2 separate regions of the Homo sapiens genome follow, and region 2 is linked to region 1. Evidence: promoter capture Hi-C in 16 types of primary human blood cells and fetal thymus (Javierre and others, 2016). All regions are on one chromosome and are shown on one strand. The core of a region is centred on a gene start or on the middle of the fragment in contact, and the rest is flanking DNA. Distances in the headings are between cores, read along the strand shown. Region 1 holds the start of CDC42EP1 (CDC42 effector protein 1). Region 2 holds the start of LOC124905115.

The links. The method cuts DNA at HindIII sites, captures the fragments that hold promoters and counts their contacts. A CHiCAGO score of 5 or more calls a contact.
Region 2: a fragment that was not itself captured here is called in contact with the fragment with the promoter of CDC42EP1 in region 1 in 1 of 17 cell types (endothelial precursors); the score reaches 5.2 in endothelial precursors.

Annotation. Positions count from the first base shown.
Region 1 is chr22:37,558,007-37,563,386 of GRCh38, forward strand. CDC42EP1 (CDC42 effector protein 1) reads left to right here and starts at 2,474. Exons shown (of 3, transcript NM_152243.3): 1 at 2,474-2,582. RefSeq lists enhancers at 3,110-3,716, 3,717-4,324, 3,793-4,022, 4,325-4,931. The HindIII fragment of the contact is 15,994 bases long and covers 1-5,380 here.
Region 2 is chr22:37,745,064-37,750,291 of GRCh38, forward strand. The region is part of intron 11 of TRIOBP (TRIO and F-actin binding protein); the gene reads left to right. LOC124905115 reads right to left here and starts at 2,236. Exons shown (of 3, transcript XM_047441691.1): 1 at 2,059-2,236. The coding sequence starts at 2,076. LOC102724378 (a long non-coding RNA gene) reads right to left here and starts at 881. Exons shown (of 3, transcript NR_160697.1): 1 at 556-881; 2 at 408-477. RefSeq lists silencers at 741-1,040, 1,381-1,610, 1,831-1,940. The HindIII fragment of the contact is 2,944 bases long and covers 163-3,106 here.

The DNA.
Region 1 (5,380 bases), core at 1,224-3,723:
CACTAGTTCTTTGTTTCCATCACTGTCCTTCCAGTCCATTCTTCACTCACAGTCAGATTTCTATTTTGTTTTTTGTTTTTTTGAGATGGGGTCTCGCTCTGTCGCCCAGGCTGGAGTGCAGTAGCACGATCTCAGCTCACTGTAACCTCCGTCTCCCAGATTCAAGCAATTCTCCTGCCTCTGCCTCCTGAATAGCTGGGATTACAGGCGCCCACCACTATGCCCGGCTAATTTTTGGTATTTTTAGTAGAGACAGGATTTCACCATGTTGGCCAAGCTGGTCACGAACTCCTGACCTCAAGTGATCTGCTCGCCTCGGCCTCCCAAAGTGCTGGGATTACAAGTGTGAGCCACCGCGCCCGGCACTTTTTTATTTTTATTTTTTAAGATGGAGTCTCGCTCTGTTGACCAGGCTGGAGTGCCGTGGTGCGATCTCAGCTCACTGCAACCTCCGCTTCCCAGGTTCAAGCAATTCTCCCTGCCTCAGCCTCCCGAGTAGCTGGGATTACAGGCACCCGCCACCACGCCTGGCTAATTTTTGTATTTTTAGTTGAGACGGAGTTTTACCATATTGGTCAGGCTGGTCTCAAACTCCCAGCCTCAAGTAATCTGCCCACCTCAGCCTCCCAAAGTGCTGGGATTACAGGCGTGAGCAACCACGCCGGGCAACAGTCAGTCTTCTAAATGTACACCTGCCAGTGCTGCCTGCTGGCTCACTGTCCTGATGCTGTTCCAGTTCTCCATGGGACAAAATACTCCTGGGCCGGCCCCCAGGGAAAGAGTTCCTACTGCTGTGCCACTTGAGCAAATGCTAGAATGCTTTGTGCCTCTGTTTCCTCATTTGTCCAGCTGCAGAAATAGCTCCTTCCCTTGGTGGCCAGCATGGGGATTCAGGGAGCCAGTGGAAGAGGCCTAGCCCCTGGGTGAACAGTAAAGACCTTGTCTCCTCCACCTGCGGGTAAATACAGCTCCTCATCCCCGGCCACAACAGCGCTCAGCCAGTCTCCTTCAGCCGGGTTTGCCTCCGCTGCAGGGTCCTCCACTCCCAGCCTTTGCTGTGCTGTCCCTTGCCAGCTGTGCACTGTGCATTTCCACTGCCCTTCCCTCTGCCTACACGTCCTTTAAGACTTAACTCACAACCATGCAGTGGCTCACACCCATAATCCTAGCACTTGAGGAGGCCAAGGCAGGCGGATCACCTGAGGTAAGGAGTTCAAGACCAGCCTGGCCAACATGGTGAAGCCCCCTCTCTACTAAAAAATACAAAAATTAGCCGGGCGTGGGTGGGTGCCTGTAATCCCAGCTAGTCCGGAGGCTTAGGAGGGAGAATCGCTTGAACCCGGGAGGTGGAAGCTGCAGTGAGCTGAGATCATGCCATGGCACTCCAGCCTGAGCAACAGAGAGAGACTCCGTCTCAAAAAAAAAAAAAAAAAAAAAAAAAAAAAAAAAAAAAAAAAAAAGAGAGAGAGAGAGACTTAACTCAGGTATCATCTCCTCTAGGAAGATTTCCTGAGCCCCCAGGCCCTGCAGGAAGTATTAGGGACCTCTCTGTGCCCTGACAGCCCGAGGACTCTATAGTCAGATGGGAGTAGTCAAAGGAGGGCACAACAACGGGAGGCAGGGGCCAGAGATCTATCTCCCCTCCTTGAGGATGGCACAGGGTCCCGGGTATGGCTGATTCCCTGCCCTCCATGGAGGTGGGCGGGGTGGGGGGAGGGTCTGTAAAGTCTCTGAGATGCGACTTCATTTACCTGCCGAGCAAGCCTCCTAGGTGCTCTTGGAGCAGGAAACACTTCACACAACATCTGATGCTGCTATTATCTATCCCACTTTCAGATCAGGAAACTGAGGCAGAGAAAGGTAAGTAGTGACTGAGGCAGGACAGGAGCCCAGGCTGTCCGGCTCCAGGGTCCCGGTCTTGACGGCCACTCTACCCCACTCTACCAGTCGCCCCAGTATGGCTGTCTTCCTCCTGGGCACCGCGGGGCCTGTACCGGATGGAAGGGAATGAGAATGGGGAGCAAAGGAGTGGGCATGTCATGCCTGTAAACATCAAGGTTTAAAGGCCCAGGCATTCAAGGCCTCAGATCGAGCTTCCCGGTTCCCCGAACTCCCGCAGGGCGCGGCTGGAGGGCCCAGGAGGGAGGAGAGTTCATCAGGCCTGGACGCCCCAAGCAAGGCCACGAGGGGAACCGGTGGAAGAGGGGTTGGCGGCCGGGGACCGGAGTCGCCTCCCCGGGGCAGCCCGCACGTTCCCCGGCTGGCCTTGTCCGGGGTGGCGAGCAGAGGCCTGGCCTGGCCCCCCAGCCGCGTCCCTGCCAGCTCTCGGCGGCCGCGAGGACGGTGCCGGGGAGGGGGCCGGGGAGGGGGCCGGGCCCCGCCCGCGGGCGGGAGGAGACGGGCGGGAGGCGGGAGCGCCCACACCCCGCCCCCGCCCCCGGATCCAGCCCGCGGAGCCCGCGGCCAGGGCGGCGCAGACCGGCCCAGCGACTCTCCCGGGCTGCCAGCCGGGACGCGCGGCCGCCGCCGCTGCAGACGACGAGTCCGCCCTCGTCCCGCGCCCCCGGGGCTCGCGGAGCCAGGTAACAGCCCGGGCGCGCGGGTCCTCGGGGCGGAGGCCGTGGAGGCCGGCGGGTCCCGGCGCCCGCGGGGACTCTGCACCCTACTAGGCTCCCGGGGCCGGAACGGGGACGGGACCCGCCCGGGAGAGGCGCCCCCGGGTGCCCACAGGAAGGCCGGGCGCGGCCGCGGAGCCGCGCGAGGAAACTCCGAGCTTTCGGGCTTCGTGTCCCGTTCCAGGCTGGTGGAGGGGGCAGAGGATCGGACACGGCTGAGCGGCCAAAATGCGCGAGGAGGGGGCGAGCCGAGGGGCAGAGCGGGGGCTGTCTCCGCGCCTTCCTGCGCGGGGGAAGGAAGGGCCGGGGCGGGCAGCGGGCGACGCGGCGGAATGTCTCCCCTCCGCCGAGGCCCACGCGGAGAGCGGGAAGTGGGGGGTGGGGGGCCCGGGGAGATGGACAGGCACCCTGCCCCCCTCCCCGACCGCCGCATTCCAGGCTGGAGCCGCGGATGAGGTCATCCCGTCCGGTTCCCCTCCGGCCAAGACAGCCGGTCGTCCCCTTCCCCCGCGGAGCGACCCTCCGCGTCCTGAGCCCCGTCCCCCCAGGGAATGTTGGATGGCCGAAGTCTTTCCCGGACTTCCAATCCCGGCCGCCCTCCAGATTGTTCTGCCTTTGCCCCAGCAGTGCCAGACCCGCAACATTCGAAGCCCTTTTCCTAGACCGGGAAACTGAGGCTTAGAGAGTAGGGGGGACTGGCCGGGAGGCCGCAGCGGCACTAAACGTGGCGCGGGGACCCGAGACGCGGCCCGCAGCCGCTCCGTCTCGCTCGGTCCCGGGCTGGTTCGGCTCTAACTCGGGGCGGTGGGCACGAAGCGCGTCTCCTTTCCACTTTCCCCGTCGCTCCCTAATGGCCCACGGTGCCCCCCTTGGAATACGGAGGACCGGGTCCCCTAGCGCGACTGCGAACAACTAGCTACCCCGTTCTGGCCTCAGTTTCCCCGTCTCTCCACCTTGAAGCGTCTGGACTTTGAGGAGCAGGAGAAGTCAGCCGACCGGTTTAACCCCTTATTCCAGGGACCAGAGCAGGTTTGGGGGAGCTGCCGTAACCATGACAGGGACCCGCTGTCCAGCGGTGGGGGGGGGCGTCACCCAGCTGGATGCCCGCAGGAAGTGGGCTGTGTGCACCCGAGCAGTGGCCTCCAGGATGAGACGTGGGCCCCTGGCCAGCACTGCGGCCTGCGGGTGACCCCCAGGTGAATGCCAGGGTGCAGCCGCCCCCGCTCTCCTTCAGACCCGCCCTTGGCCTCCCCGCGACCACATGTGCCTCCACAGCGACCCCTGTTGGCCCGATCCCGGCTCCAAAACTTGTTCTTGCGTCATTCCCACCATTGAGTGAGCTCAGGCCATGTGCCCAGGCCCTGACTATCCTCTATAGGGTAAATATAAGGACTCCAAGGACACTGAGGCTGTGTGGTGACCTCCTTGCCCAGGTCACAGGCAGTGAATCTGCAGAGCTGGGTCTCCTGTCTTCCCAGGCCTGCACCTGCACCCCACACCGGGCTCAGCACTGGGCATCCAAGCCCTCCAAATCGTCTTCCCCATTCCCCATCGTCTTCACCCCCACCCTGGGGCATTTACCAGCAATGTTGGTCTGTGACTGAGGGTAAATGTCTCCTTTCTGAGCTTCGTTTTTTCCATCTGTGAAAGGGGTGTTCTGAACACTAACGGGCGGTGTTCCTGAGCAGGTGAGGGGAGGTGAGCCTGGCACCAGGACACTTGGAGCCCTGCTTACTCCAGTGCCAGGTGAGGCACACCTGATGGCCAGCAGTGCCCTGTGGTTGGCAGCAAGTGCCACGTGGCTGCCACCGGGGTCCCTGGAATGAGAGATGTTAGTGTAAAGGTGTCAGATTTGAACCCATGGCTGCCCTGCTCCAGTATCTGAGGGTTTCATTACATTTTCTACCCTTGCAACTCCCCTGGGAGGGGAACTGCCTGGTGTGCTGTTCCGTTTTCCACATGGGAAGACCGGGTCCCAATACCCTGCCCTCAGCTCCACAGCGCTGCAGAGTCTCTCGACCGCAGTAGGCAGGGTAGTGTGAGGGGTGGGTACTATTGGGGGGGTGCCCAGAAACATTTGAAAGATGGGATCATCGCAAGATTGGGGAGGAAGCTGGTCCCCCAAGTCAAAAGTGACCATGGGGGTTCAGGGGGGAGGAGCCCCTTTTGCTGGGAGATGAGGTGCTGCCTCAAGAAGTCAGGGAGGCCAGGTGTGGTGGTTCACACTTGTAATCCCAGCACTTTGGGAGGCTGAGGCAGCAGGATGGCTTGAGTTCAGGAATTTGAGACCAACCTGGGCAATGGAGTGAGACCCTGTCCTTACAAAAAGTGGAAAAACTTAGCTGAGCATGGTGGTATGTGCCTGTAGTCCCAGCTACTCAGGAGGCTGAGGTGGGAGGATCGCTTGAGCCTGGGAGTTCGAGGCTGCAGTTAGCTGTGATGGAGCCACTGCACTCAGCCTGGGTGACAGAGTGAGACCCTGCCTCAAAAAAGAAAAAAAAAAAAGTCAGGGAGCTGGGGTGGGAGCAAGTGGGTAAGGCCACATGGCAGACCCTTCTACAGGACATTGTACAGAGGAACACCCTTCCCGCTCCCATTCCTTCCCCCAGAGATGCATCCTTAATCCCTGCTGAGCAGGGAAACTTGGCCCTGCCATGAACCTGTCACTTAACCTTGGACAGGTCTCCCTTCCCTCCGAACCTCAGTGCTGCCTGTCAAATAGGCCACGCTGCGGCTTTGCAGGGTTGTTGGAGAATCAGATGACA
Region 2 (5,228 bases), core at 385-2,884, 190 kb after region 1:
CATGTTGGCCAGTCTGCTCTTGAACTCCTGATCTCAATGATCCACCCACCTCAGCCTCCCAAAGTGTTGGGATTACAGACCTGAACCACCGCGCCCGGCAAGGGCAATAATTTTTGAACCCCAAATCAAGATGACAGAATAATTGAAATGCCAATTATTCCAAGCTTCCCTGCCTCCTTGCCTAAGGATAGCTAATGAGGGATAAAGAGGTTGTCCTAGGTGCCTTACTTGAATTAACACTTAATCCTTCCAGCAACCTCATGAGGTAACAGCATTACCCCATTTTACAGAGAGTGAAATTGAGCACCGAGAGGTGCCTTGCTTAAGGTAACACTAGGCTGGAATCCCCGTGCCACACGAACTTCCTAGTGCATTTAGCAACCAATTCCACCACGGTCCCTACTCACCTGCAGGAAAAGAGCATCTAACAAACGGCCCAGCGTTCTGGGAACCTGAGCAACGGGTGCACGCCCACACCTGAAAAACCCCAAACCAAAAAAGACCCATTTGTGAGGAGTGGGCATTTGGGAGAGACCCTGCCATCCAAGAACTCACTTTGTGTCCAGCTTACTCGCTAGGAATTCCGCCTCTTCCTGTGTGACCTCGGGCAAATCGGCTCACCCCTCTGAGCCTCCGTTTTCTCATTAGCAAAATAAGACCTCCCTCCCAAGTCTGTGGTGAGGACGAAAATCGACTCTTGGCGAGTGGGACCCGCTGAGTCGTTAGTACTGGGTGCTTTGCCCCGGTCCCCGCCAAATCACGGCGCCGAGCCCTAGCGGACCCATCGCTCCGGGGCCGGGTCGGGAAGCGCAGCCTGGGCGAGTCGTGCCCACGCCCGGCCGCCCGCATCCTCCGCCCCCGCGCCATTGCCGGAGTCACCTGCACCCTGGGCCCTTCCTTCCTCCCAGCGCGCCCGCGGCCCGGGCCCGCCCGCCCTCCGGCCGCCACCGCCCTCCCTTCCCTGCGGCCCCATCCGCCCACCCCGCCGTCCCGCCGTCCCGCCGCCCCGCCGCCCTAGCGCGCCCGTCCCGTTGCGGCAGGTCCCGCCCCCGGCCCGTCTCGCGCTTCCATTGGCCCGCCGCGGCCCCCGCCGCTGTTTGTCTCGGCTTCCCCGCCACCCATTGGCCCGCTCGGGTCCTCCCAGGAAGTTTGAAAAAAAAAAAAAAAAAGTTTTATGGGCGGATGGAAGGGGCCGGGGCAGCGTCGGGGAAAGGAAGGGCCGGAGGCGCGGCGGCGGGCGGCCGAGAGGGGCGGCGGCGGCGGCGGCGGCGGGGTTCCCGCGCCGCGGAGCCCGGCCCGAGAGCCGCGTCCACGTTCCTGCCTCCTGCTCCCGCCGCCCTGGGGCGCCGCCATGACGGTGAGTGCCCCAGTCAGCCGCCCGCGCCCGAGGCCGGGAGAAGGGCGACGACCCGAGGCAGAGCCCAGCCTCTCCCCTCCGGGGCAGCCCCCTCCTCATTTCCCGAAGGCGAGAGGAGGGCTGGGCCGGAAGACGGGGCCACCTCCGAAGCGCTTTCGGCCAGACCGGCCTCACCCTTCCCGCAGGCTCCTCCTCGCCTTCCCTCGCCCACTCGCCCCCGGGAGCCCAGGCGACCCTGAGGGGACGGAACGACCCGTCTCGGGCGCCCCCTCCTCACACTTGCGGCACCAGTCACGGGTGGATTCGGGGCGACCCTTTCCCACCTCCCCTCCAGCCCCCTAGACGAAGACCCGATTCCCCAAGGCGGCCAGGGGCCCCAGGGAGGAGCGGAGGTGGGCCTGGGCTGGGGAGGGGCGCTCGTGGGTGCGGATGGGTCGCGCTGACCCGGGCCTGGGCAAGCCAGCCCTCCGTGTGGCCGCTGGCCCGAGGTCGGGTGGGCGAGAAGTGGCCGGACCGCCCCACCCACAGCCCGGGAGGCAGTCCCGGGACGTCTGAAGCAGCGGGATACCACGTCTTCCTGGGCTTGCACTTTGCAGCGGTCCTGGGGCCTTGGGACAAGCCTGCGAGTCTGAGTAGGGGGCATGATGGCAGGGGTTTGCCTTTCTCATGGGGGTGAGCTGTACCCAAGCCCCATCAATTACCTGTGCCATAGTTAGCATATTGAGCCTCACAGCTGGGTTCGCTGGACTCCCCACTTCACAGCCAGATAAACTGAGGCTTGGGGAGGGGCGCTGGTGAGTTGCCCGAGGTCACCCCAAGTATAAGAGAAGGAGTAGCTCCTTTCCCTGTCCTTCTGGCCCACTGACCGTGATGTTCGGGAAGGGAGGGGTGGGGCTGCTTTTGGTTTCTGGCTAGTGCTTCAGGGAGGCTCTGACAGCCCAGTGGCCCTCCTGGGGGAGGATGAGCAGGGTGTGTGTGTGCACAGGCGGCAGTAGGCCTCTTTCAGGGGAGTGGAGACCCTGCGGAGGAGTGGGTGGGCTGCTGGGGGCGGGCTGGGCTGCTGGGGGGCGTGGCACGCCTAGCCCCTGCCCTGTGAGTGTGATGGCCTGGACTTCCTCGGCGTCCTCCTGGACATCCTGCCACCTCCCTGCTGGCCCTTCCTGTCGTCAGCAGCCTCCCCTTTTCTGTCAGGAGCAGAAGGGATGTGGGGGGAGGAGCTGAGTCAGTGTCCTGGGGCCAGGAGGAGAGAAGTTGCCTTGCCCACCGGGTGCCTGCCCGGCCCTCAGCCGGGTGCTTTCACGTTACCAGATTTGATCCTTGAAGGTTGGTAGTAACATCTTAATCAAACAGATGAGGAAACCAAGGTGTGGCGAGGTGAAGTGTCATGCCCCAGGTAACTCAGTGAGTCCCAGGCTAAGCCAGAATTTGTATCCAGGTCCGTTCCAGCTTTCTTTCACAGTTGCCTGTCCTGGGGGCAGCACGTGCTGAGCAAGGGTAAGGCTGCCGGAAGCAGCGTGTGGGGTGCTTGGAAGATGGACAGCACATCCCTGCTGGTGGCAGCAGCCTTCCTGAGGGAGGTGTCCTCCTGTGATTATAGGGCCTTGTCAGGTGGAGATGGACTAGCGAGGAGACAGCAGTGTGGACAGAAACGGGTGGTCATGTTTGAGAAGTAGCAAGAGCGTAGGGAAGGGGTCTGGGGAGGAGGGCCTCACTGCTAGGGCTTGGACAGGGGCAATAGAGAGCCATGAAAGCTTTTAGAGCAGAGAGGAGGCTATGATCACCATTAATAGTGTTCATTGAGTTCATCCTGGCTGCCATGCAGACCTCAGCCTGCTCTCAGCTGGTGCTCCTCCTGTACCCACCTCACACCCTCCTCCCCTGGCCCCCGTGCCCTGAATCAGGGATCCATACAGAGCAAGTGGCACAGGTGTGTGAGTGTGTGAGGCTCCGGGGCTTCAGGGAGTTGGGATTCTCTTCCACCCCTTTTGCCTTTGCCTGGGTGCAGCTTTGCTCCCGGATCAGCCTTCCCCCTCGCCTGCTGGGCATCAAATTATATTTGGTCCCTTGTTTACTGTCTCTTTCCTACAGTCCACCAGGGCAGGGGCCACAGCTCTTGGTCACAGCTAATTTCCTGGCCTAGAACAGTGCCTGATAACTTTAAAAAAAAATTTTTTTTTCTGCAAACACTCCCTGAGCCCCTATCTGTGCTGGGTCCTGGCAGGTAAACAGTGTATGTCCCTGACTGTGAGTTGCATCTAATCTAGCCTGTGAAGGATAAGTAAAGGGCCTCAAGATAGTCACGGATGCAACAGAGGCCTCTGAGAGGGGCCATGGGAGGGCAGGACGGGGGCGGCTGGTGGTGCGGTGAGTGGCATGAACTGTGAAGGGACCTCAGAGGTGGCCATTAAGCTGGGTCTTAAGGCCTGAGTAGCCGCTTGCCTAGTCATCGGAGGAGGAGGAAGCATAGTGTTTCAGGCCAAGGACATGGCACATATGAAGGGCCCGGAGTCCTGGTGTGTTGTGATCGGCAAGGAATATGCAGTGGTATAAACAGGGGCCCCTCAGCAAGGGGAGGCCAGGCTGGAAGAGTGTGATGAGGCTTCCCTGCCATCCTGAGGCAGCTGGACTTTGTTTTAAAGCCACCTGGAGACCGGGTGTAGTGGCTTATGTGTGCCTGTAATCCCAGCATTTTGGGAGGCTGAGGTGGATGGATCACTTGAGGTCAGGAGTTCGAGACCAGCCTGGCCAGCATGGTGAAATCCCATCTCTACTAAAAATAAAAAAATTTGCTGGACATGGTGGTGGGTGCTTGTAATCTCAGGTATTTGGGAGGCTGAGGCAGGAGAAACGCTTCAACCCGGGAGGTGGAGGTTGCAGTAAGCCGAGATGGCGCCATTGCACTCCAGCCTGGGCAGCAGAGACTCTGTCTCAAAAATAAAGCAAGCCACCTGGAGCCGTCCCTGGAACTGTTAAGCAAGCCTGGGATACCAAGCCTTTTTGAGTGAGTCCCGCCAGCCCGAGGGTGTGTAGAGGGGTTGTGTGCCTGGCCAGGTAGGAGGCGGGGCTGTGAGAACCTGCCAGTACTCCCGAAAGGCGGAAGGAGAAACTGAGCTTCTAGCAGGTGAAGAAGAGGTAGCTGGGCCTGAAGAGCCCTGTATGAAGGGGCATCGTGGGAGATTTAGATGATCGGACCTTTTGACCCTGGGGACAGGTTTCCCTGCCAGTTTAAAAACTCACATTGGTTGGCCGGGCACATTGGCTCACACCTATAATCCCAGCATTTTTGGAGGCCGAGGTGAGCGGATCACTTGAGCTCAGGAGTTTGAAACCAACCTGGGAAACATAGGGAGACCCCATCTCTACAAAAAAAAAAAAAAAAAAAAAATTAGCTGAGCATGGTGGAGTGCTTATGTCGTCCCGGCTACTTGGAAGCTGAGGTGGAAGGATCGCTTGAGCCCAGGAGGTTGAGTCAGCAGTAAGCTGTGATCACACCACCACACTCCAGTCTGGGCAGCAGAGCAGGGCCCTGTCTCAACAAAACAAAACTCAAATTGGTGACCTTCTATCCCCAAGGTCACTGTGTCATGGCGTGCCTGACATGGTATGTGATGTGTCTGTACTGGGCTCTGGAGGATCACTAGGTTTCTCCTTGTACAGACACGTTCAGTCCTGTCGGAAGCTGCGGGAGGGGAGGACCGCCCCGTCATTTGCCACATCAGGCAGCCAGGACTCAGAGAGGGGATGTGACTTAGGAAGGTCACAGTGACTCCACTTCCCAGGCAGCCCTAGAGGTTCCAGCCTGACAGCTTGTCATTCCTGCCCCAATCTCCCAGCCCTGGCCCAGGGACTTTCGCCTGGGACTGCCCAGTGG